3 separate regions of the Homo sapiens genome follow, and all the other regions are linked to region 3. The links are contacts of gene promoters, found by promoter capture Hi-C in human tissues and cell types (Jung and others, 2019). All regions are on one chromosome and are shown on one strand. Each heading gives the region's core, a stretch centred on a gene start or on the middle of the fragment in contact. The rest is flanking DNA. Distances are from core to core; before and after follow the strand shown. Region 1 overlaps LOC107986462 (a long non-coding RNA gene). Region 2 overlaps HTR4 (5-hydroxytryptamine receptor 4). Region 3 holds the start of SPINK14 (serine peptidase inhibitor Kazal type 14 (putative)).

The links. Contacts are between HindIII fragments. The study calls those that stand out against the background at their distance.
Region 1: a fragment that was not itself captured here is called in contact with the fragment with the promoter of SPINK14 in region 3 in 1 of the 25 tissues and cell types used here (heart right ventricle).
Region 2: a fragment that was not itself captured here is called in contact with the fragment with the promoter of SPINK14 in region 3 in 1 of the 25 tissues and cell types used here (spleen).

What each region holds. Positions count from the first base shown.
Region 1 is chr5:148,469,436-148,472,135 of GRCh38, forward strand. The region is part of intron 2 of LOC107986462 (a long non-coding RNA gene); the gene reads left to right. It also overlaps a transcript of HTR4 not described here. Among named protein-coding and RNA genes, the nearest start is that of FBXO38, 87 kb to the left of the region's middle. The HindIII fragment of the contact is 5,700 bases long and covers 1-2,700 here.
Region 2 is chr5:148,490,004-148,492,726 of GRCh38, forward strand. All of the region lies in intron 6 of HTR4 (5-hydroxytryptamine receptor 4), which reads right to left. The region is part of intron 2 of LOC107986462 (a long non-coding RNA gene); the gene reads left to right. Among named protein-coding and RNA genes, the nearest start is that of FBXO38, 110 kb to the left of the region's middle. The HindIII fragment of the contact is 3,001 bases long and covers 1-2,723 here.
Region 3 is chr5:148,167,133-148,169,832 of GRCh38, forward strand. SPINK14 (serine peptidase inhibitor Kazal type 14 (putative)) reads left to right here and starts at 1,414. Exons shown (of 5, transcript NM_001001325.2): 1 at 1,414-1,435; 2 at 2,529-2,667. The coding sequence starts at 2,601. The HindIII fragment of the contact is 5,009 bases long and covers 391-2,700 here.

The sequences.
Region 1 (2,700 bases), core at 154-2,653, 300 kb after region 3:
TGATCTGACTACACAAGATCTGCTGTCAAAAATGTCTTGCCTCCTCACCTGAACATTTCCCCAGTCCAAAAGCTCTGCTTGTCGTAGTGGCAGTCTGAGTCCTGGCACATTCTGAAGCCAGCTCTGCAGCATAAACAATAAGTTCCTACACGGGGGTTGTGTTTGTTTGGTCAGAGCTTTATCCACTAGGCTTGGTCATCAGCAGTTGGCTGGTTACAAATGCAGTCCTGAGACCAAATGGCTGGAATCCAATTATCCCAGCTTCCTGTCTGCATAACCATGCCAGGGAGGAACATAGTCATGTTTGCCTGCCTTGTCAGGCTCCTAGGATGCAAAGTATATCATTTGGAGAAAACTAACAAACAACAGATCCTCAGATATTTTGATGGAGAGGCAGTATGATGTGGAAAGAGGACACATTGGTCCAGAATGCAAAATCTCTGGCGCTAGTCCACATTCCGCCTCTTCCTGGCTCAGTATCTAACTCTTCATTTCTCCAAGCTTCATTTTCTCATGTATCAGAGGGAGATCACAACAGCAACAACAGGGTGGTTGGGAGCTTCTAGTGAGATGATGTACGTGAAAGAGCTTTGAAAATTATAATGATGATAATGGTGATGGTGATGGTGATGACAACAGCAATGATAGCTGACAGTTATTGAGAACCTATTGTGAGAAGGGCACTGTCCTATTTGTTTGATGGTCACTATCTTATTTAATATTCACAAGTATTTTTGAATAACTGATGACAGTGGTAACGGTGCTATTAATAAAGATAGCTAACATTTCTTAAATATTTACTATATATAAGCCTCCTTTTTCAGCATTTTAAGCATATTAACATATGCAGCTTCCCATCATGTAAAATAAGTGCTATTATCATCTCTACTTGACATATGAGGAAAATTAGATACAGAAGTTTGGCAATTTGCTCAAGATCATACTGACGGTAAGAGGCCATAAGGATTCAAATGCAGGCATTCTGACTATAGAATAGGAGTTGCCAACTTTTTTAGAGTTAGCAAACTTTTTCTGTGAAGGGCTAGATGTAAGTATTTTAGGCCTTGAAGCCACATAGAGTCTTTGTTGCATATTCTTTTTTGCTTTCCTTGTTTTCCTGTTTGATTGTTGTTATTTGTTTTTATACCCCTTTACAAATGCAGAAAACATTTTTAGCTCAAGGATCACACAAAAAAACACACATATGGCTGAACTTGGCCCACAGAGCTGTAGTTTGCTAACTCTTGCTCTAGAAGTAATTTCTTTTTTTTGAGATGGAGTCTCGTTCTGCTGCCCAGGCTAGAGTGCAGTGGCAAAATCTCAGCTCACTGCAACATCCACCTCCCAGATTCAAGCGATTTTCCTGCCTCAGCCTCCCAAGTAGCTGGGATTACAGGCACCCACCACCATGACCAGCTAATTTTTGTATTTTTAGTAGAGACGGGGTTTCACCATGTTGACCAGGCTGGTCTTGAACTCCTGACCTCAAATGATCTGCTCCTTTCAGCATCCCAAAGTGCTGGGATTACAGGCATGAGCCACTGTGGGCCCAGCCTCTAAAAGTAATTTCTATTTTACAGATAAGAAAACTAAAGATCAAAAGCTTCAGGAATTTAACTAAGGCCATTCAATAAGTGCTGAAATCAGGATCTGAATCCAGTTTTGCTTACTTTCAAAAATTGTGTCAACCCACACTACACTGTCTCCGTGTATGCTGTTAAAATGTAGGATATTATTACTGAGTTAGGGATACTGTACTTTCTCCAGTCAATTTTCAAATTGAATATAGTTTCTCCTCTTGGAACAGACTTGGGGGCTAGATAGCAGGCTGAGAGCTAGCCGACCCCATGCCTAGTACAATGCCTGACACATAGCAGGCATATAATACATAACTCCCTGTTGAGTGAAATAATTCTGATTTCTGATTGAATTCAATCATTCCCCAATATCTCAGCCATTTTCCCAGACTCTTCTGTATTTTGCATTTGAATCATGCCTTCCTTGTAAAGGAAGGCAATAATATATTCCTTAATCCAGTTTCTAGGGAACCTGGAACAATTTATGAGATAATTTCCATAGAACTATGTGGAGGAAAGAAAGATGTTATACGTAGAAATATTATTTTTACAATGAGTCATTGTGCTCACAAAAATGGCACTAGAAGACTGTACTTATGACTTCTAAATAAATACATCACTAACCACAGGCAGGAAAATAGGGAGAACCTAGTGACTTTATTATAAATCACTATTGTTGTATCCACCAATACAGATTCACATTAAAGCAGGGATTTTAATTGTTATTTAACGTTGGATTTTTATTTCAGGGAATAAATGAACTTCTTAGAAATGTGGCAAAAATTGTGTGCATATGTCCAGATTTTTAGGGAAAAGATCATGGATTTCATCAGACTCTCAAAAGGATTTTTTATGCCCTAAATGTTAGCACTACAGTAGAATTGTTTCAGTGTAGTTTACCTTTGATGAGAAAAAGGGAAACACAAAAAGTTGCTGGTGTGTGGTGATCAGTACTAGGTTTTCCAGGTGTCCCTGTCCGTGTGATGCTTTCTTATACTCTCAGGATACTCACATAGGGTTCCACTCACCAGTTTCCCACTGGCATAGGTGTCTGGGTCTGCAAACCGGTCTGGAAGATTAATCACAGTCCAGGCTGGCCACAGTGACCAGCATTCAGAGCACC
Region 2 (2,723 bases), core at 134-2,633, 320 kb after region 3:
CAGAGAAAATAATTTATAATTTGCAACTCTGTCAAGGAAAGAGCATCCTAAAATCACCAAAATGTGTGAATAGCCTTTCAGTTCAATTCTAGAACTCACCCTTTTGGAAAGTCATGCAAATGTATATATACATATACATGTATATATATAATATATAATATACATATACATATATATGTATGTGTGTGTGTATATATATACATATATATATGTATATATATCCTGATCAGTAAATATATCCAATATTTTTTCCAAATGCAATCTCAGGCATCAAATTAGCTGTTTACCACTAAGCATCTATGGAGATATTTCTCCTTTGGAAATGTCTACATTTTCTACCAACCCCAGATTGCCAAAGATTCAGTAAAGGAAAGCAGAATGGCCCCCTAAAATTGACAGTATCATTTCTGACATATGTCTTCTCATTAGTAATATTTCCAGAAATTCTCCAGCTTCAACCAAACAAAATGTTACACTGGCTGAAATAGAGTTTGCTGTCCCCTACACTTAACTGCACTGTGGGACGATGCTTATGATTTTGTAACTCACAGAATCACAAAAAAAGGGGCTGAGAACGTGTTATTCAATCTACTCACCTCTTCCCCAGAAATGTTGACTAATGAACATTCAGTTCTTCCAGTTACTGATATTCGGTCAATCAACACTTTTAATTGACTGATGGTCATCCAATTGTCTCCTTCAACTTTACTAGGAACTCCCTAGTAAGGCAATCCATTCCATTTTGTGCTGAAATACATGTTCTTATAACCTCAATCCTTTGTTTCTTACCTCTCTCCCTCACATTATGCAGAAGAAGTCGAATTCCTGTTTCCTCTAACAGCCCTTTAAATATATAAAAACAATAATTATGACCTAAAACCTCTTTGCTCTAAGCTCAGCATCCCCAGTTCCTTCTACTGTTATTTATATGTCATAAATTCTGTAGAGAAAATCATGGCATTTACCCTCTTCTGAACATACTCCGGCTTGTCAATTCCCGGTATAAGATGAAGCTTTTATCATTTCCATGGACCAGGTACCTGCACATTGCACCATGGACTAAACACACATTTACATGGGAATATGGTTTTCCAATGGGTATCTCAGTGTGCTTTGGAGGAGATTTCTTCCTGAACAGCTGCTCTGACTAAATTGGAAGGTCTGTGTCCTCGCCAAGTACATGCTGTAAGAGAACAAGCTCCTAGAGCCTGCCTAGTGGAAAGGGCTTATCTGCAAGGTTACTGCCGGTACTCTAACCACAGAAGTTCAGGACCCTTCCTCCTAGAAACCGTATCAGTCGCCTTCTACGGCGCTATATATTTTTTTTTTTTTGGTCTTGCCTTAAGAATGTATGAGGATTAAAAGGAGCCAAATGGTGCAGGGGCTGAACCTCCTGGTACTGTTGAAAGACCTCTCCTGCTGTCCTTGGCAGTGGCAAGGAAGTTCTCTGTTGTAAAGCTCAGAGGACTAGTTTGAAGCAGGGTTTCTTAACCTCGGCACTATCTGGAAATCTGGGGCCAGGAAATTCTTTGCTCTGGGGTGTTCCATGCATTGTCGGATGATTAGCAGCGTCCCTGGCCTCCACCCACTATATACCAATAGTATTCCCACGTTGTGACAACCAAAAATGCCACCAGATATTGCCAAATGTTCTCTGGTAAACAAGATCATTCCTGATAAAGAACTACTGGTTTAAACCCACACAATCTCAGTGATCTAAGACATGCAGCTAGATCTAAACTTAAAGCATTATCTAATTCAACTTCCTCATTTTATTGGTGTTGGGAGAGGTAATGACTTCCTGATGATCACTAAGGGATTAGAAGACAGGCCTCCTGCTCTTTCCAGGACACCAGCGGTTGTTAACCCTGCTGCGCACTCAAGCTCCTAAAATAAATGGATTTCTGCTTCCCAACCAGACCCAATTAAAATGGAATCTCTACAAGCAGAGCTCAGGCTCAGGTATTGCTTAAGAGGCCCCAGGTGGCTGTAATGTGCAGCCAGGGTTGAAGGCCAGGGCACCACATCACACTGCCTCTATCTTTGACCTCAAATAAACCACGTTGGGCATTTCTGGAGCTGAGTGTTGTTTGGGGGCTTGCCCTGCAGGGTGGCATGCATAATCCCTTTTTACTGCGAGCGCTGATCTCTGAGGGCTGGTACACAGAACCTCGACACCCTGACAGTGGGTGCACCTACGGAGCAAAAGGGGGAAAACAAACACACACGGAATGTGCTCAACTTGTTTGACATGGCTAGTATATTTTATGTTGGGTCAAAGAAATGCCTACAGGTAATTTAAAATCCAGAAGGCATATTCAAAATAACAGCCCCAACTGTTCAGCACAGGGTATGATGTACCCAGGAAACAAGTCTTGTCTCATGTTGCTTAAACAATTGTTTATAAACAGTGTGATTAATTTATTTCTGGCTTTTCTTCTAGTAGAGGAGCCCTGCATCCCTTGTTTCAGGAGAAGTGTTTAGAACATGGAGATTTCTATTGACTCATTTCTTAAGAAATTCTTATCAGGAAGCTGAGAAAATAACTGGAGACCTGGAGGAAGATGTTTTACCAAGATATGAATGATGCTATGCAAATACTTATGATAACAATGTAGCAGTTTCCATTGATTGAGTGCTTTCTGTGTAATAGGAACTGGCATATCCCTGAACGGATGTTATCAATTTAACCTTAACAAAAGCCCCATGAAATGGGTTCTAAT
Region 3 (2,700 bases), core at 164-2,663:
CGCAAAATGGAAAATTCTGTGGTCCAGATAGAATAAATTACTTTCCAAGTTGACAAAACATTATAAATTGATGTTCTGATTCTGCGTTCAGAATCCTTTCTAAACAACAGGATGCATCTACCTTTCCAAACTGGGGAACAAATGATCTACTCAGGAAGATAGCAGGTTGTTTTCAAAATATTTCTTGTAAGTATGGAGCCCAGAATTACAAGTATGGAGCCCAGAAATGTGATGAAAACCACCACCTCTCTCATATTCTAGGTGACCTAAGTTCTTTCTGGAAGTTTTCAATGGGTTTATTTACAGGCATTTATTAAAATAAAATATTAAAAGACAAGTTAACTGAGGTAAATAAAAATCTGCCTATGCTAGCACTATTAATAACAATAAAAAATTGGCATCACCCTAATTGAGCAACAATTAAAGAATATTAGTATAATTAAAATCCACATATGTGATGGAATATGACACCAGGCATCTAAATTCATGTTCAATATATTTAGAGATCAAGAAAATGTAATAGTGCATTTCTAAGTGAAAAAACAATATATATTATAAAAGTTGAATATTGTAATAAAACATATGTACCTGTGTGATTATGTATATATATTTAAACTGGAAGAATATAATTTTATATATATTTAATAGGTACCTCTGAGTTGTAAGATTTCACACCTTTTTATTTCATTTGTATATTTTTTGTTTTATATATTTTATTTCATTTTGTATGTTTCTTTTTTTTCATATTTCTATTTGGCCATTTCTATTTGTATGTTTCTACTTGCTCCGCCTCCCTCTCTTTTTTGTATATTTCTATTTTATAAATTTTCTAAGTGAGCATATATTTTCTTTGTATAAGAAAAATAGCTTTTTACAGAAGGAATGGTAGAGGCCAGAAGTTCAGATAATAGGAGGACCTTAAGCTATAATAATATATCTTCCCTGTTAAAATGGCAAAGGCTCTGGGTTACTACAGGCACAAGGCTGGATCTACTGCAAATGGTATCCAAGGATCTCATCTGTCACTGCAACCTCCTGTACCAGCCTTTTCTTTATTAGATGTTTCCACACATGTTTTCATTCTGGTCCTAATACTGGTCCTGGTCTTGATACTAATTATTGTTGTGGAACATGTTATATTCTTTCTGCTTGCTCTTTCCTACTGTGGGATGTTTTCTCATGCTATTGCCTCTCTTGAATTGCCTGCTAATGGCTGCCCTTTCCAGTGATCTCTTCTTACCCTCCTCAGGTCTTCCCCTGCTGAGGTTTGATGCAATCTGAATGATGGATCTCCAGGGCCTGCTCAGTCCAGCACACAATGCCTCAGTGACTTTTCTGTCCTACGCAGCAGTTACTCTATTTCCTCCTGGGGCCCTAATACATGCTTCTTAGAAGGAGCACATTATATTCCTCTTCCTTTTCTCTTCTTTCTGAGGTGGGTCAGCTGTGACATGAGGGATGGAGAGAGTGGGCCTCTGTGTTTTGCTCTAGTTTTCTGGCTGCAGCTGAACTTGTACTGTTCCTGTTCCATTTCTGGAGGAAGCCAGGGAAAATATCAGGATGAGATGGGGGTGTGTTTAGCAAAACATGGTGTCCCAGATTGTGCCAGGAGTAGGCATGGTAGGCAACCTTTCATAGTGTACAAAGAACTTGCAATCATCCTGAGAGTAGAATACTCTGGCTACATTTTAATGTCTTAAGTAACACCTGCCACATCAGAGCACATCAGCAGAGTTTATATAAATTATCCATTGACATGTGTTGCAGACAGAGATAAAAGCCTAGAGAACATATGGAAGACCAGGCTACTTTTCTAGAATTAGGAATGGAGGAACAGTTAAATGTGGTCCTTGGTCAGGCCCTGGAAACTGCAGTTTCCATTCTCTGGGGTCAGAAATGTTGCTACAAGGAAAGTCCATCCCGAGGGAGGATTTGCTCTCTGACTTTTCCCTTTCTGTGTCTGGATTAAAATAGCTGTGGGACCCCAGTGAGATGGCAGATAATGATTTTTCTCCCTGTGAATGTCCTCAAAGAGTCTGGGATTCAACATCAGAAGATCCTTGGTATAGACAAGCATGCCTGAATCATCAGAAATCTTTGTCTTAATCCAAAGAGGTATTCTTTGCTTGACGAGCAAGTACAGATCCACTCCACTTATTGAGAAGTTCATGTTGTCTAGGGACCTCAATAGCCCCATCTTTTTTTTTGCATCCCCTCAAAAGATAAATTTAGGTGAAGCTTCAGGTAAGGAGTTGCTTTTTCATGACATGTAAAATGTTTTCCCACTAAAATAATACACTTATGCCCACAGAGTAACCTATGATTTACTTCTGAGTATTCAAAGATCTGTTACTGAGCTCTATACTTTTAATCAAGATAGTTATTCAAGGTTTAACTTTTTAAACATTTGTTTCTGAAGAAGAATGGAATAGGCTTTCCAAATACATAGTACTGAGGATACAATGGGTGGAGTAGAGATGGCTCTTCATTGTAAAAGTCATCTTAAATCCTGATTGTCTCTACTTTAGTGATTGTATTAGAGGGCAACAACCTGAGACAATATTTCAGAGCATCATTCCAAGGACACACCAGGAGGAAAAATGGCCAAATCTTTCCCAGTATTCTCACTTTTGTCCTTTATCTTGATACATTTGGTGTTATCTTCTGGTGAGTAATTTAGCTGGTCTTGGCCAGCAGTTG